2 separate regions of the Homo sapiens genome follow, and region 1 is linked to region 2. Evidence: promoter capture Hi-C in human tissues and cell types (Jung and others, 2019). All regions are on one chromosome and are shown on one strand. Each heading gives the region's core, a stretch centred on a gene start or on the middle of the fragment in contact. The rest is flanking DNA. Distances are from core to core; before and after follow the strand shown.

The links. The method cuts DNA at HindIII sites, captures the fragments that hold promoters and counts their contacts. A contact is called where the count stands out against the background at its distance.
Region 1: a fragment that was not itself captured here is called in contact with the fragment with the promoter of GPRASP1 in region 2 in 1 of the 25 tissues and cell types used here (hippocampus).

The regions. Positions count from the first base shown.
Region 1 is chrX:102,845,153-102,852,456 of GRCh38, forward strand. It overlaps ARMCX5-GPRASP2 (ARMCX5-GPRASP2 readthrough), which reads left to right. Exons shown (of 19, transcript NR_146584.3): 12 at 705-868. LINC00630 (long intergenic non-protein coding RNA 630) reads left to right here. Exons shown (of 12, transcript NR_146589.1): 3 at 705-868. Among named protein-coding and RNA genes, the nearest start is that of LINC00630, 80 kb to the left of the region's middle. The HindIII fragment of the contact is 3,240 bases long and covers 3,041-6,280 here.
Region 2 is chrX:102,645,186-102,653,043 of GRCh38, forward strand. It overlaps GPRASP1 (G protein-coupled receptor associated sorting protein 1), which reads left to right and starts at 6,298. Exons shown (of 6, transcript NM_001184727.2): 1 at 6,298-6,410; 2 at 6,502-6,548; 3 at 6,990-7,080; 4 at 7,646-7,713. The region is part of intron 4 of ARMCX5-GPRASP2 (ARMCX5-GPRASP2 readthrough); the gene reads left to right. The HindIII fragment of the contact is 5,623 bases long and covers 3,554-7,858 here.

The DNA of each region.
Region 1 (7,304 bases), core at 3,411-5,910, 200 kb after region 2:
TAGGCAAAGGAACTATGCAAAGGTGTGTGAGACATAGAGGACAAGTCAATGCATCACAGTTGCCATGGAAACCTGAAGTCATTATGGGGCTTCTGCATCTTTTAATAGAGCAGAAGACCTAGAATAATATGGCTATGAGAGCAAGGTCCTGCCTTCAGGTGTTTGGGACTCAGTTGAGGTTGTGGGTGCCCCATGGTGGGGGCTGAACTGCCCTGGGATGAATGAGAGAGACATAGGACTCTTCTCACCCCAGTGAGTGTCATGTATTGCTCCAGGGTGTCCTGTAGCTACTTTCCACATAAAGGCCAGGCATGGGAGGATGAGACTGGTAATGACTCTCTTTGACCTCAGCTTCCCCTTCTGTAAAATGGGGATAAGAATGCTCACATACAGGATTGCTGCAACCGGGATTGTAATAACACAAATGCAAGCCCATAGCCCTGTGGTTATTGCAGAATCAGGAATACCTGTGTGAGTTGAGGTCACTTCTCATTCCTTTTCAATTTTGTTGTTAGAAGATAGATGAGGAAAGGAGAAGAAAAAGGTCCTAGTGAGAAACCCACTGACGACCCTTCTAATTGTTATGATCACTACCCAATTGTATCAGTGTCATTGTTCACTAACCCAGTGCCTAGCATGGTGCCAGGCACATAGTTACTCTAAGAAAGCACAGTGATTGCTGGATTCTCTTTCTCCTTGTACAGCTCTTCATGTGGATGTCTGAGCTCATATCAGGTGTCTGAAAGAGGCAGATTCTGAGGATTTGGGTCATGATGGCTGCCAAAGCTTCTACTCCTGACTTAAAGGGCAACAATCCTAGGAGACCACCAGCACTTACATCCCTGGTAGGACATGACACCTGCTTATGGTGAGTTCATGGACCTGAACAAAAGCATGTGGTGGAATAGCTCCTGTGAGGTTCACAAAATAGCTTAAAAATAAAGAAGCTACTTTCATCTCATCACTGGGGAAGAGGTTTAGCGGGTGGAATTTCCTTTCATCAGCAACTGTATGCTTTGAAGTAGCCCTTGACACCCATCTAAGTGATGCCTGCTTTGAAAGCAATGAATTACCCACACTGAAGAAAGAACTTGATCTTAATATGCACTTGTAATAAATACATATTTTTTCTGACTGTATAAGTCATTCCCATTTATCTCCCAGATGGGGGTTGAACTATGCAGTTAGTTAGAAGATGTCCCTAGCAATTTGATTCATGTATTAATATTTCTCCTTGCAGTCTATCAGTTTTAGCCTCGTTTTACATTTTTTAAAAGACTTTAAATCAGAAAAACAAAAATTGAGGGAATTCCACATGAATTTTAATATCAACTTGTTAATTTCTAGAAAAAAATTTATGCTAGTATTTTGACTGGGATTCCATTGAAAGCATAGATCATTTTGGGGAGAACAGACATCATAACAAAACTGAGTCATCCAACTCAAGAAGAGAAGAAAAGGCCTAAAGACAATCTACAGGTCAACTCTAGAAAGATCAATCTATAAAAGAATAGTTATAGTACTTCCAATTTTATATTTGTGGTTAGAATTGAATCAGTTGAATTGTGTTTTTCTTCCTTACCTGATGAATCATGAGTTCTTTGGTGGTGAGAGAGAGCGAGAGAGCATGTGGATATATCAGTGTATGTACATGCACATATATATATATATATATATATATATGTTTATATCACTGAAGTTGTGATGAGTATCTATTGTTAGGAACACTTAAGGAGTGTTAATGTGGTCATGTCAGTCTCTTTCAATTCTTCGCACATTTTATGAACCAAATCAGAGTGATTATTCTTTGCTTTTTTTCCACCTTTCTCCTTGGCCAGCATGGTTACCATGGTGACTCATTGACTACTGTGGGATTTTGTGCAGACTGCGCATCCATGTATGATTCTCGTCTGAATCACTCACACCCAGTTGTCTGTCCACCAGACATAGTATTAGCTTTTGATCTTATATGCAGTTGTTCACTTCTAAAGGGCTCAGAAGAAACTTGCTTTGCTTCTCTGAGGTTAAGCTACATAACATAAGAGGACACTAAGTAACTTAAAAGAAAAAGAAATAGGTTGTTGATATTCTCCTTCCTCAAGCTTTATCAGGAGGTTAGAAGAAATATTACTGGAATCATACAGCATGCACTCTCTTGTGTCTGGCTCCCTTCAATCAACATAATGTGTGTGAGATTAACATGTATTGTTGTTTGTAGTTGTAGATTATTCATTCTCGTTGTTGTAAAGTATTATATTGTTTGGATACTTCACAATATAGTTATCTGTTATAAAAACTTGGGTATTTTCCAGTTTTTGACTTATCATGAGTAATGATCATACGAACATTTTTGTTTGTATCAAATAGATGGACATATATTTTCATCTCTCTTGGGCATATACCAAAGAATAGCATTCCTGAGTCATAGGGTATGTCTGTGTGTGGCTCCATAGATACCACCAAGCAGTTTTTACAGTGTTTTTTTTTTTCAATCTATATTCCCACCAGCAGTGTGTGAGAGTTTCACTTAATCCATATCCTCACCAGCACTTGGTATTTTCCATCTTTTCCATTTTTGTTGTTCTGGTGAGCATGTGGTACTATCTCCTACTGGTTTTAATTGTAATTTCTCCAAAGTGTCAAGTCCCTTTTAATTCAAAGAAGGTCCATCCTTTTTTTCAACCTTCTACTTAGAGTTCTCCAACAAAACAGAACGACTCATATATATATGTGTACATATATATGTATATGTGTGTGATATATGTGTATATATATACACACATATATACACATACACTCATATATGTATGTATGTATATCTGTGTATATATATATATACACACACACACACAGAGACATTGCAGAGATATTACAGGTTTAGTTGCAGACCACTGCAATAAAGCAAATACCATATTAAGCAAGTCACATGAATTTTATGGTTTCCCACTGCATATAAAAGTTATGTTTACACTACTGTAGTCTATTAAATATGCAAATAGCATTATGTCTATAAAAATAGTGTACTTACCTTAATTTAAAAAGACTTTATTGCTAAAAACTGCTAACAATCATCTGAGCCTTCAGTGAATTATTATCTTTTTGTTGGTAGAGGGCCTTGATGCTGTTGATGGCTAACAGATCGGGGTGGTGGTTGCTGAAAGTTGGCACAGTTCTAATAATTTCTTAAGATAAGACAACAATGAAGTTTGCTGCATCCATTGACTCTTCCTTTCACAAAAGATTTTTCCATAAGCATGTGATACTATTTGATAGCGTTTTACCCAGAGTTCAAGTTATTTCAAAATTAAGGTCAATCTTTCAAACCCTGCCACTGCTTTATCAAGTTTATGTAATATTCTAAACCTTTTGTTGTCATTTCAATGATGCTCACTGCATCTTCAACAGAAGTAGATTCCATCTCAACCAACCACTTTCTTTACTCATCCAGAAGAAAAAACTCCTTATCTGTTCAAGTTTGATCTTGAGATTGCAGCAATTCCATCACATCTTCAAGCTCTACTTTAATTCTAGATCTCTTGCTGTTTCCATCACATCTGCAGTTATTCTTCCACTGAGGTCTCGAACCCCTCAAAGTCATCCATGAGGGTTGGAATCAACTTCTTCCAAATTCCTTTTAATGTTGATATTTTGACCTCTTCCTATGAATCACAATGTTCACAATGGCATTTAAAATGAATTCTTTCTAGAAGATTTTTCCATTTACTTTGCCTGGGTCCACCAGAGGAATCACTGAGCAGTAGGCCTCAATAGCGGGCTTAAAGTATTCAGTAAACCATGCTGTAAACAGAGGTGCTGTCATTTAGGCTTGTTGTTTTATTTCTAGAATGCAGACAGAGTATATTTAGCATAATTTTTAAGGGCCCTTGGATATTCAGAATGGTAATTGAACATTGGCTTCAATTTTAAGTCACCAGCTTTATTAACCCCTAAAAAAAAGAGTTAGTCTGTCCTTCGAAGCTTTGAAGCCAGGCATTGTTTTCTACTTTCTAGCTATGAAAGTTCTACATGGCATCTTCTTCCACTATAAAACTGTTTTCTCTACATTGAAAATATTTTGTTTAGTATAGCAACCCTCGTCAATTATTTTACCTATGTCTCTGGATAATTTGCTGTAGCTTCTACATGAGCACATGCTACTTCACCTTGCACTTTCATGTTGTGGAGATGGGTTCTTTCCTTAAACCTCACGAACCAACCTTTGCTAGCTCCAGCTTTTCTTCTGGCTACACTTTTCTTCTGCTGCTTCCTCACATTTTCTTAGCCTTCATAGAATTGAATAGAGTTAGAGCCTTGCTCTGGATTATGCTTTGGCTTAAGGGAATGTTGTGGCTGATTTGATCTTCTATCCAGGTCACTAAAACTTTCTCTTTACCAGCAATAAGGCTGTTTTGCATTCTTTTCATTCATGTGTTCACTAGAGGAGAACTTTTAATCTCCTTGAAAAACATTTACTTTGTGTTCACAACCTGGCTGTTTGGTGCAAGAGGCCTAGCTTTTGGCCTGTCTCAACTTTTGACATGCCTTGCTTACTCAGTGTAATCATTTCTAGCTTTTGATTTAAAGTGAGAGACATGGGACTCGTCCTTTCACCTGAACATTCAAAGCCATTATAGGGTTAATATAATAGCCTAATTTCAATATTGTTGTGTCCCAGGGAATAGGGAGGCCTGAGGACAGGGAGAGAGACCGAGAAACAGCCAGTCAGTGAAGCAGTTAGAGCACATACATTTATCAATTAAGTTAGTCATCTTAGATGGGTGTAGTTTGTGGTGCCTGCCCCGAAACAATTACAACAGTAAAATCAAAGACCACTGTTCACAGATCACCACAATAGCTATTACAATAATAATGAAAAAATTTGAAATATTGTGAGAATTACCAAAATATGACAGACACACAAAATGAGCACATGCTATTGGAAAAATGGTGCTAATAGACATGCTTGATGCAAGGTTGCCATAAAACTTCTGTTTGTAAAACATGCAATATCTGTGAAATGCAATAAAACAGAGATATGCTTGTATGTATATACACACACAAACACACACATATATGTACACACACACACACAAACACACAGAGGGTCCTTGACTTATTATGGAGTTACATCCCAATAAACCTATCCTAAGTTGAAAATATCATAAGTCAAAAATGCACTTAATACACCTAACCTACTGAACATCATAGCTTAACCTAATTTGCCTTAAACACACTCAGAACCCTTACATTAGCCTACACCTGGGCAAAATCATTCCATACAAAGTCTATTTTATAATAAAGTATTGAATATCTTCTGTAATTTATTGAATACTGTACAGAAAGTGAAAAACAGGTGTATGAGTACTCAAAGTACAGTTTCTACTGAATGGATATCACTTTTGTACCACCATAATGTTGAAAAATTATAAGTTGAACCATACTGATAAAGATTTATTATAAGTAGTTGGCTCATGTAATTATGAAGGCTGAGATTTGTCAACATCTGCAGTAGGCAAACTTGATTTCCAAGAGAGCCTGTGGTATAGTTCCTATTCAAAACTGAAGGTCTGAGAATCTGGAGAGTTAATGTTGTAAATTCCAGGCCAAAAGCTTGCTGGCTAGAAACACAAGAAAAGGTGATTTGAATTCATGTCCAAAGGCAGGAAAAGACCAATGTTTCAGTTCAGAAAATGAGGCAGAGAAATTCCTCCTGGTCAGCCTTTTTGTTCTGTTTACATCTTCAATTGATTGGACGAGGCCCATGCACATTAGAGAAGGCAAATTTCTTTACTCAGTTCACCCATTTGAATGTTAATCTCATCCAGAGACACCATCAAAGACACACCAAGAATAACGGTTTTTTTTTGTTTGTTTGTTTGGTTTTTTTTAGACAGGATCTCTCTCTGTTGCCCAGGCTAGAGTGCGGTGGCACCATCTCGGCTCACTGCAACCTCCACCTCCCAGGTTCAAGCAATTCTCCTGCCTCAGCCACCTGAGTAGCTGGGATTACAGGCGTGTGCCACCACACCTGGATAATTTTTGTATTTTTAGTAGAGACAGGGTTTGGCTGTTGGCCCGGCTGGTCTTGAACTCCTGGCCTCAAGTGACCTGCCTACCTCGGCCTTTCAAAGTGCTGGGATTACAGGCATGAGCCACCATGTCCAGCCCAGAATAATGTCTGACCAAATATCTGGGACCTTTGTTGCTCAGTCAAGTTGACACATAAAATTAACCATCACACATTCCAATTTATTTGCTTAAGATATTTTGCCCTATGGAGTTTGCTTTGTGGATTTTGCTGACTTATATCCTTATTGTGTTGTTTATTATATTCCACTGGCAACTTCTTTTCCTTTAAATTTGTATTAGATTTAGAGTCTTGATCCAATTCAGATTTTTTGGCAGAAAAATCTGTGGTGTTGTTTATTCCTAAAGCATTATACCATGAGGAGGTTAATTGTATCTAGTTGTCTCTCCTCTTACGATGTTAAGATTGATCACTAGGTTCAAAAGTTGTTAGATTTATTGATTATAAAAATTCCCATCTGCATTATACCTCAAGTATTTTGCAGCCTCTAAATGTGTATAAGTCCACATTTCATTAAAAGTTGTAGCAAGGTGATGTTCTAATTCTATTTTTGGCATTTATTAGCTTGAATTATTCTATAAAAGAAACATCCCCTCATCAACTATAGGTTAGTATAGTATGCATAGGAAAATAAGATGAATGCTTAATTCTTTTGTTATATTTCTACTTTTCAAAATAATGGGTTGTTCTAGGATTCTTCAGAGGGGAGCAGTGAGTTGATTTTGTTTTGTTTTCTTTTGTTCTATTCTATTATTATTTTAAAGTGTTTTCATAAGCTCTAGATGTTTCTATATCTGATGTGTTTTAACCTATTGCAATATTTTTATTGATGTTCAGATTTTTCTGTCTTTGTGAATGGAAGCTTCTTTAGCTCAACTTATTCTTGACATGGTTTTGAGTATGTTAGTTTGGTCTAGACTCCTCTGGTACCATTCCTACCCCAGACCTGGAGTCAGACATTTTTTCCAAAGGAGTCTGGTTCTTTTTAGTGGGAAATGTTTTAGAGGTCTCATTCTTGGTACTAGAGTTGCCCATTACTATTGGGTTGGTCATTATTACTTATCCTTTTCAGTGCTTAAAACCATTAAATATGTATTATATTTTGAGATAATACACATGATTGTCTTTAATCCTGGGCTGCTGTTCTATCCCTTTATGCATAATCATTTTTATCAATGTTTGTTTTGACCTTCTAATTTTAAAATTATAAGCAAAT
Region 2 (7,858 bases), core at 5,048-7,547:
GCCTCAGAATTATGGCAGGAGGTAAAAGGCACTTCTTACACAGCGGGAGCAAGAGAAAAATGAGGAAGAAACAAAATCAGAAACCCCTGATAAGCCCATAAGATTTTGTGAGTCTTATTCACTATCACAAGAATAACACGGGAGAGACCAATCCCTGATTCAATTACCTCCCTCTGGGTCCTTACCATAACACGTGGGAATTCTGGGAGATACAATTCGAGTTGAGATTTTGGTGGGGACATGGCCAAACCATATCATTTCACCCCTGGCCCCTCCAAATCTCATTTCCTCACATTTTAAAACCAATTATGTCTTCCCAGCAATCCCCCAAAGTCTTAACTCATTTCAGCATCAACCCAAAAGTCCACAGTCCAAAGTCTCATATGAGACAAGGCAAGTCCCTTCTGCCTATGAGCTTGTAAAATCAAAATCAATCTAGTTACTTCCTGGATAAAACGGGGGTGTAGGTATTGGGTAAATACAACCATTCCAAATGGGAGAAATTGGCCAAAACAAAGGGGTTACAGGGCCCATGCAAGTCTGAAATCCAGTGGGGCAGTCAAATTTTAAAGCTCCAAAATGATCTCCTTCAACTCTAGGTCTCACATCCAGGTCATGCAGATGCAAAAAGTGGGTTCCCACAGTCTTGGGCAGCTCTGCCCTGTGGCTTTGCAGGGTACAGCCTCCCTCCTGGCTGCTTACATGGGTTGGCATTATCTGTGGCTTTTCCACGCACACAGTGCAAGCCGTCAGTGGATCTATCATTCTGGGGTCTGGAGGATGGTGGCCCTCTTCTCACAGCTCCACTAGGTGGTGCCTCAGTAGGGACTCTGTGTGAGGGTTCTGACCCCACATTTCCCTTCTGCACTGCCCTAGCAGAGGTTCTCCATGAGGGCCCCACCCCTGCAGCAAACTTTTACCTGGGCATCCAAGCGTTTCTTACATCTTCTGAAATATAGGCAGAGGTTCCCAAACCTCAGTTCTTGACTTCTGTACACCTGCATGCTCAACACCACGTGGAAGCTGCCAAGGCTTGCGGCTTCCACCCTCTGAAGCCACAGCCCAAGCTGTATGTTGGCCCCTTTCAGCCACAGCTGGAGCAGCTGGGACACAGGGCACCAAGTGCCCAGGCTGCACACAGCATGGGGGCCTTGTGCCCAGCCCACAAGAACACTTTTCCTCCTGGGCCTCCAGGCCTGTGATGGGAGGGACTACTGGGAAGTTCTCCGACATGGCCTGGAGACATTTTTCCCATGGTCTTGGGGATTAACATTAGGCTGCTTGCTACTTATGCAAATTTCTGCAGCTGGCTTGAATTTCTTCCCATAAAATGGGTTTTTCTTTCTTATCGCATAGTCAGCCTGCAAATTTTCCAAACTTTTATGCTCTGCTTCTCTTATAAAACTGAATGCCTTTAACAGCATCCAAGTTACCTCTTGAATGCTTTGCTGCTTAGAAATTTCTTCTGCCAGATACCTTAAATCATCTCTCTGAAGTTCAAAGTTCTACAAATCTCTAGGGCAGGGGCAAAATGCTGCCAGTCTCTTTGCCAAAACATAACAAGCGTCACCTTTGCTCCAGTTCCCAACAAGTCCCTCATCTCCATCTGAGACCACCTCAGCCTGAATTTTATTTTCCATATCACTATCAACATTTTGGGCAAAGCCATTCAACAAGTGTCTAGGAAGTTCCAAACTTTCCCACATTTTCCTGTCTTCTTCTGAGCCCTGTTCCAACCTCTGCCTGTTACCCAGTTTCAAAGTCGCTTCCATATTTTGGGGTGTCTTTTGAGCAACACCCCACTCTACCGGTACCAATTTACTGTATTAGTTTGTTTTCACGCTGCTGATAAAGACATACCCGAGACTGGGAAGAAAAAGAGGTTTAATTGGACTTACAGTTCCACATGGCTGGGGAGGCCTCAGAATCATGGCAGGAGGTAAAAGGCACTTCTTACATGGCAGTGACAATATAAAAATGAGGAAGAAGCAAAAATAGAACCCCCTGATAAACCCATCAGATTTTGTGAGACTTATTCACTATCATGAGAATAGCACTGGAAAGACTGGCCCCCATGATTCAATTACCTCCCCCTGGGTCCCTCTCACAACATGTGGGAATTCTGGGAGTTACAATTCGAGTTGAGACTTGGGTGGGGACACAGTCAAACCATATCAAGTCCCATCAATGGAATGTGAGTGGAAATGATGTGAGCATTTCCTCACCATGGATTTTAAGAAGGAAATCAACTACTTCTATTCTCCTTTTTCTCATTTGCTGGCTGGATGCAGGCTGTGGTGAGGCCCTATCATGATGAGGCAGGAAGTGATGGTTAGTTAATGAGAAACAACAACAAAAGGTAGTGTAGTTTTCTCATTATTTTTTCTATTATAGAAAGCAATTTGACATTCCATTAATTTCTAATATTTATTGACATTGTGGAAATTCAGGTTTTCTTCTCCCTGTAAAGCTAATTAGCTCTCCTTGCCAGCTCCTATAGTTCTAAAAATCCTCAAGGGGTATTTCCTATGTCCTGAATTTTTGGGGTTTTCCTGTGATTCTTCCAGTTGTTGCTGCCATTCTAAGCTGTATTGCCAGGCATTTAATGTCCTCTAATTAACTGTTCTCTCTAATTTCCTAACTCCACCTATACACAGGGTTTTCATGATGTCAGATCTGAGTAGTAGTCAAAAGTTTAAATCCATGTTAGAAAGGAGGATATTTTCCTCTCTTTAGGTTATGCTTTATTAATGGGTTCCTTACACTGGAGCATTACAGAGTTTACTTAAAGACAGTTATTTCCTGGATATGTATAAACCTGCCTTTGCTATGACAGATATACAGTTGAGGGTTTGTGTTGGAATAGGCACAAATAGGAGTTCTATAATAATTTCAGTGTTGCTATTAGAATATCTATACTTCCCTAATGGCAAGGCATTGTTCATGGGCTAGGGTCCTTGTGCGTGACTTGGTTTTTCTTCAAGATTAATTCTCTTGAAGTAGACCCCACCCCAAATATGACCTGAAAATATTCTTGGGCCAGGCCTCCCCACCAGTTCTGCAAATGTACCCTGTCTCAAGAAGTAGAGACAGGCTGAGATCTTTCCCATAGCATTTTCAGGCTACACTGAAAATAGACATCTGTTGGGCCAATTTCACCATATAGTTCACCAGACCAACCTCAGCCTAGTTATTCCTGACTACAGGGGACTTTAATTTCTGTGTACAACCTTTGAAACTTTGAGATAGAAGAAGGGGATACATTATAAGAAAACACAGGGTTTGGCTCAGCCTCGACCAAAAGAGAAGTCTCAGAAGGAAGCTTTGCTTGAGGCCCATAAAGGACAGTATAGAGGCAAGTAAAACTAAATAGGCAAAAACAAGTCCATGACCATGGTGATTGAGACAGACAAGAGGAGAACAGGCAAGTGATAGGCTGGTGTGCAAGTTCATGAGCATGCTTGGGGGTGGTGGGTGGGATTTGGAAGAAAACAGTGAGTATGATGAGTGAGCACAGTTGCATCTGTATCATGGACTTAATGCTTATGGATTATTTGGCTCTGACATTTAGATTTCAGTGGTAAGTCAGGGTTACACAGGTGCTAGTGTAGGCACTGAGGAGTAGAAAGATGACTGTTGCAATTTATTGAACTAGAATCAATTATAGGAGGAAATAAATAGTGCTTAGCAGTCAGAGTATCTTATTTCAATCTTTTATTTGCTCAAAGGTTTTAAAAATAATAATCTATTTGATACATACCCATACAAAGCTAACATATGAAAAGCTTAAAGTAGGGCCTTTATCACTTCAATACATACTAACCAATACAAGACCATGTTTTCTAAGAGTACTGACAACAAATTGTCCAACACACATTTTAAAGTCTCACACAGTAAAATTTGTCAGCTTTTGGTAGAACCATTCCTCTGTCAGTAAATATCTTGGAATAAAGATCCTAGCACCTGCAGAATTACCACAGAAGCTTGTGCAAATGTGATTTTGGACATAATTATAAAACAGTAAAGGGGATTGGTGGCTGTATTGGTGAGATGAGCCCTAAAATATTTCTCAGAGACTGAAGCACAGGTAAAGAAAGGCAATGGGAATAGAATTCATCAGGATGGTGAGTGTATTCTGTTCCTACTCCTGCTATTGTTACCAACCAACACAGTGGGTGGGTTCAGTCGTTTGACATCAACCCCATGATCACAGCAAGGATTTAGTAAGGGGATTTATTACTTGTAACGAAGTAATGAGACCACCAGGGATACTTCCCAAAATAATGTCTCCCTGAGATGGGGGCTGGGTCAGGTTTTCATAAGCATTGGGTATTAAGGGTATATCCTGATGGCTTTGGATCTTACAATGAGGTGATGCTGAGAGGCATGATCTGACTGGATCCTGCCATCCAGTGTCCACTTCTTAATTCAGCCCTGGTCCTAATTCAAAACACTTACATTCTCCCTCTGATTGCATGCTTGGTTCATCTGAGGATGCTCAGGTAACATGATCTGAGGGTCCCCGGCAACTGAAAGACAATGCACAACTTTGTTATATAAAAGTTAAACCAGATAGGTCTGGTGCTGCTACCCTGTAACCAGTTACCATACATGGAATGGCTTAAAATAATACCAATTTATTATTATCTTACAGTCCTGGAAGGTTGGAAATCTTCAAAGGGCTTCACCACACTAAAATCAAGATGTTGCCAGAGGAGCTATCCCTCTGGCATTTCTAGGGAAGAATCTGTTTCTTTGTCTTTTCCAGGTTCTGGAGACAGCCTGTATTTCTTGGATCTTGGCTTCCTTCCATCTTCAAAGCCAACGATGACCAGTGTAGACTTTCTATGCTGCTTCAATCTGACATGGAGTCCCTGCCTTCCACATCTAAAGTACCCTTGCAATTACATTGGCCAAGATAACCCAGAATAATCTTAAATTAAACTCAGCTGAATAGCAATCTTAATGATCCTTTGTCAGGTAATATAAAATGGTACATGTTCTGGAGAACAGGACATGGACATCTTTAGGGGACCGTTACCTGCCAAACACAATGAGGGTAGTGTCTAAATGAGTTTTCAAATGGACAACAGTAACAACATCAACTTGGTGTTTAACCACATTGCTCTGTCTGTCCCATGCAGGAAGCAGGGAAAGGAGGGGCTCAAGAGTAGAGGACGGATGTGGGGGTGAAAGAAGAGGATTCAAATGAGCCAGGTTGCTTTGTCTCGGGGAGGGGGGTGCACGGTGGGATCCTCTCCTGAGAATGACTGCTGAAACAATAGGTAGTTGTGGCAGGTGGCGGAGATCCAAGCTGGTTTGATACCAGCCACATTTCCACACTGCCAAATATCATGGCAAGAGAAGACTTGACAGGGAACCGAAGAGAAGCCAGGACCATCCCTACCTGGCGGCATCAAAGAGAGAGGACTGTTATGACCTCCTGCGGGTCCTGACAGGGAAAGGTCCTCTTTTGGGGGCAACTGTGGGGACGGTGCAATGCCAACGTGAGCCACCATTTGAAATGAGAAACAGCGGTGTGGCAGAAAGAAATGAGTCTGGTGCAGACCAGTGGTTGGTTTCCTAGGGTTAGAGGTCTAGGTCTACCTTCTTTTAGAAGAGGGGCAGTGGTGAGTCCTTGATGGGAGCCCCCTGCCCCGGAGTTCACTTAAGAGCAGGTGTACCTTCCTCCCCTGCGTGGCTCCACGAAGCTGGGAAAGAAACGCACAGGACGACCACCCTAGAACCCCGGGCCTGTCTGGACTGAAATCGCCTCTCCCCTCCCACACTGCAGTGCTGACACCCCCTCTCCCATTAACATCCAGGAAGGAGGGTGAGCAGACTAGGGAGGGGGAGAGGGCAAACACCCAGCAGTCCTTATAGGGGGGCGGTTGGGGCGGGGGTGCAGACACACCAAGGGACGGTTTGGTATCCATCCGCTGCTCCCTCCAGCGCGGCTCTTCGCGACCTCGCGATCCTGTCCTCCGCCCGGCCCCGCAGCCGCCCGCCGGTGCCATATATTATAGCAGCGCCAGAAATGTGGTGGTCGTCGCCACGTTAGGGTCCGCGGGGTCCTCCTGAGGCAGCCTGGTGCCAACCCGCAGGCCCCGGCTGGGGCTCGTCCTGGCCCCGCCCACCTCTGGGTCGGAACTATGGTGGTTCTGTGAGGGGGGGCGTCCTGCACTTTCGCGCCGTATCCCTCCGCCCCCCTTCCCGACACCCTCGCGGAGAGCGGTTCTTGCCGCATCCTGCGCAGCCCCTGCCCAGTTTGGTGCAGAGGCGTGGGGGGCGGGACTCGTCTTTGCCATTCGGATCGCTGGGAAAGCGGTGGGAATCCAACTGAAGAGCAGCCAGAGGAGAGCTGAAGAGAGGAGGGGGAGGCCGATGACCTGGGCTCTGGGCCTCTGAAGGCAAGTAGGGGTGCGTGAGGTGGGGGGCCGTGGTGTGGGGGTGGTCCGCCAGGGTGGACCGGCTGGCAACCTGCCCCCCGGACCCTGACAGCCTGGCAACGAGGAGACGATCCGTTCGGAGCCGGGCGCTAGAGAGAGGTGCGCAGTGCCCGAGATCCCTGGCTATGGGGAGGCGGTGACTGGTGCGGGCCAGGCCGGACCAAGGGCTGAGGGGCTGGCTCCAGAGGCACCGTCAGATCGTCTGGAGGAGAACCGCGCTGACCGCTTCCCAGCCAGCTTTGCAGGCGCCCGCGCGCAGCCCTCGACGGTTTCGGTACCGAGAGACGGCTGTGGGGGAGGCTCCTGCGGGAGAAATGGCCAAACGGGAGCCGTGTTGGGGGGCGCCCGGGAGGCAGTTGGGGGGCGCCTGGGGGGGCCCTCGTGGGCCAGCGTCCCAGCTCTGTGCCTAGCCCGTGGGAGGTGGGTCGCGTTCGCTGCTCCGGGCCCTGATTCCGGAAAGGGGCCTGTGGGGCCCCGTGTCCTGGGTGCTGTCCCTTCCCACAGACTCCAGGTTGATGTCAAAGTCTGTCTGCGCGGTAGGTCTGGCGTATTCTGACAGGACACAGTGAGCATCTGTAGAGGAGAGGCTTGAAATAAAGGAGGAGCACGAATATTCCCTGGATTTCTGGAGGTGTGTGGGGATGTGGGGTGGGTGCCAAACACTGGAGAACCGAATCGGGGTGGGGGACTGCGACCAGAGCAGGTCAGGCATCCAGGAGCACCTCTTAATCTTCCCCTCTCTAATGGTGTTCCAGGCGCTTCCCCCACCTTCCATCCCCATCTGCCTCCCCCACCGTCCTAAACTGGGGGCTTGAAAGGGTGAGCTTTGGAGGTAGGGGTGATGAGGGAGACATACTGACAAGTACCAATTCACGACCTGTTTTCTAGAATATGTGGCGCCCTTCCCCCATTTTCTGCTGCGCAGAGCAAGGGGATGTGGCGCACCTAGTGGTGAATCCTCAGAATTGGAGAAGGGAGTAATGAGAAGAGTATGACGTCAAGAGAAGGAGTTGTTATCTCTAGAACCTTGAAGCAGGGCCTAAACAAAACGAGAATATTCCACCAGCAAAACCCCGAATGTTGAAAGACAGATATCAATAATATGGGGATTCTTATCCTTAGCGTTGGTCTCTCTACCAAGGGCTTTACTGCCACCCCTCATTTCCTGTCTTACTTTTTCATCTGTTTGTCCATAGGCCTGCTTTAAGGCTGGCCAGTTCTGCAAGAAAGGCAAGGAGGAGGAGACTGGCTCACACCTCTGGAGGTTGGTGAGAAGGGGGAGGGGGCAATTCAGGGGACAGTTGGAGAAAGAGAGCATGGCAGGTGGCTTTGAGACCAGTGGGTGCAGACCCACTTCTACTCTGCTGGATTTGCACAGTGCCAGCATCCTTTTTATTTCTTGCAGGGGA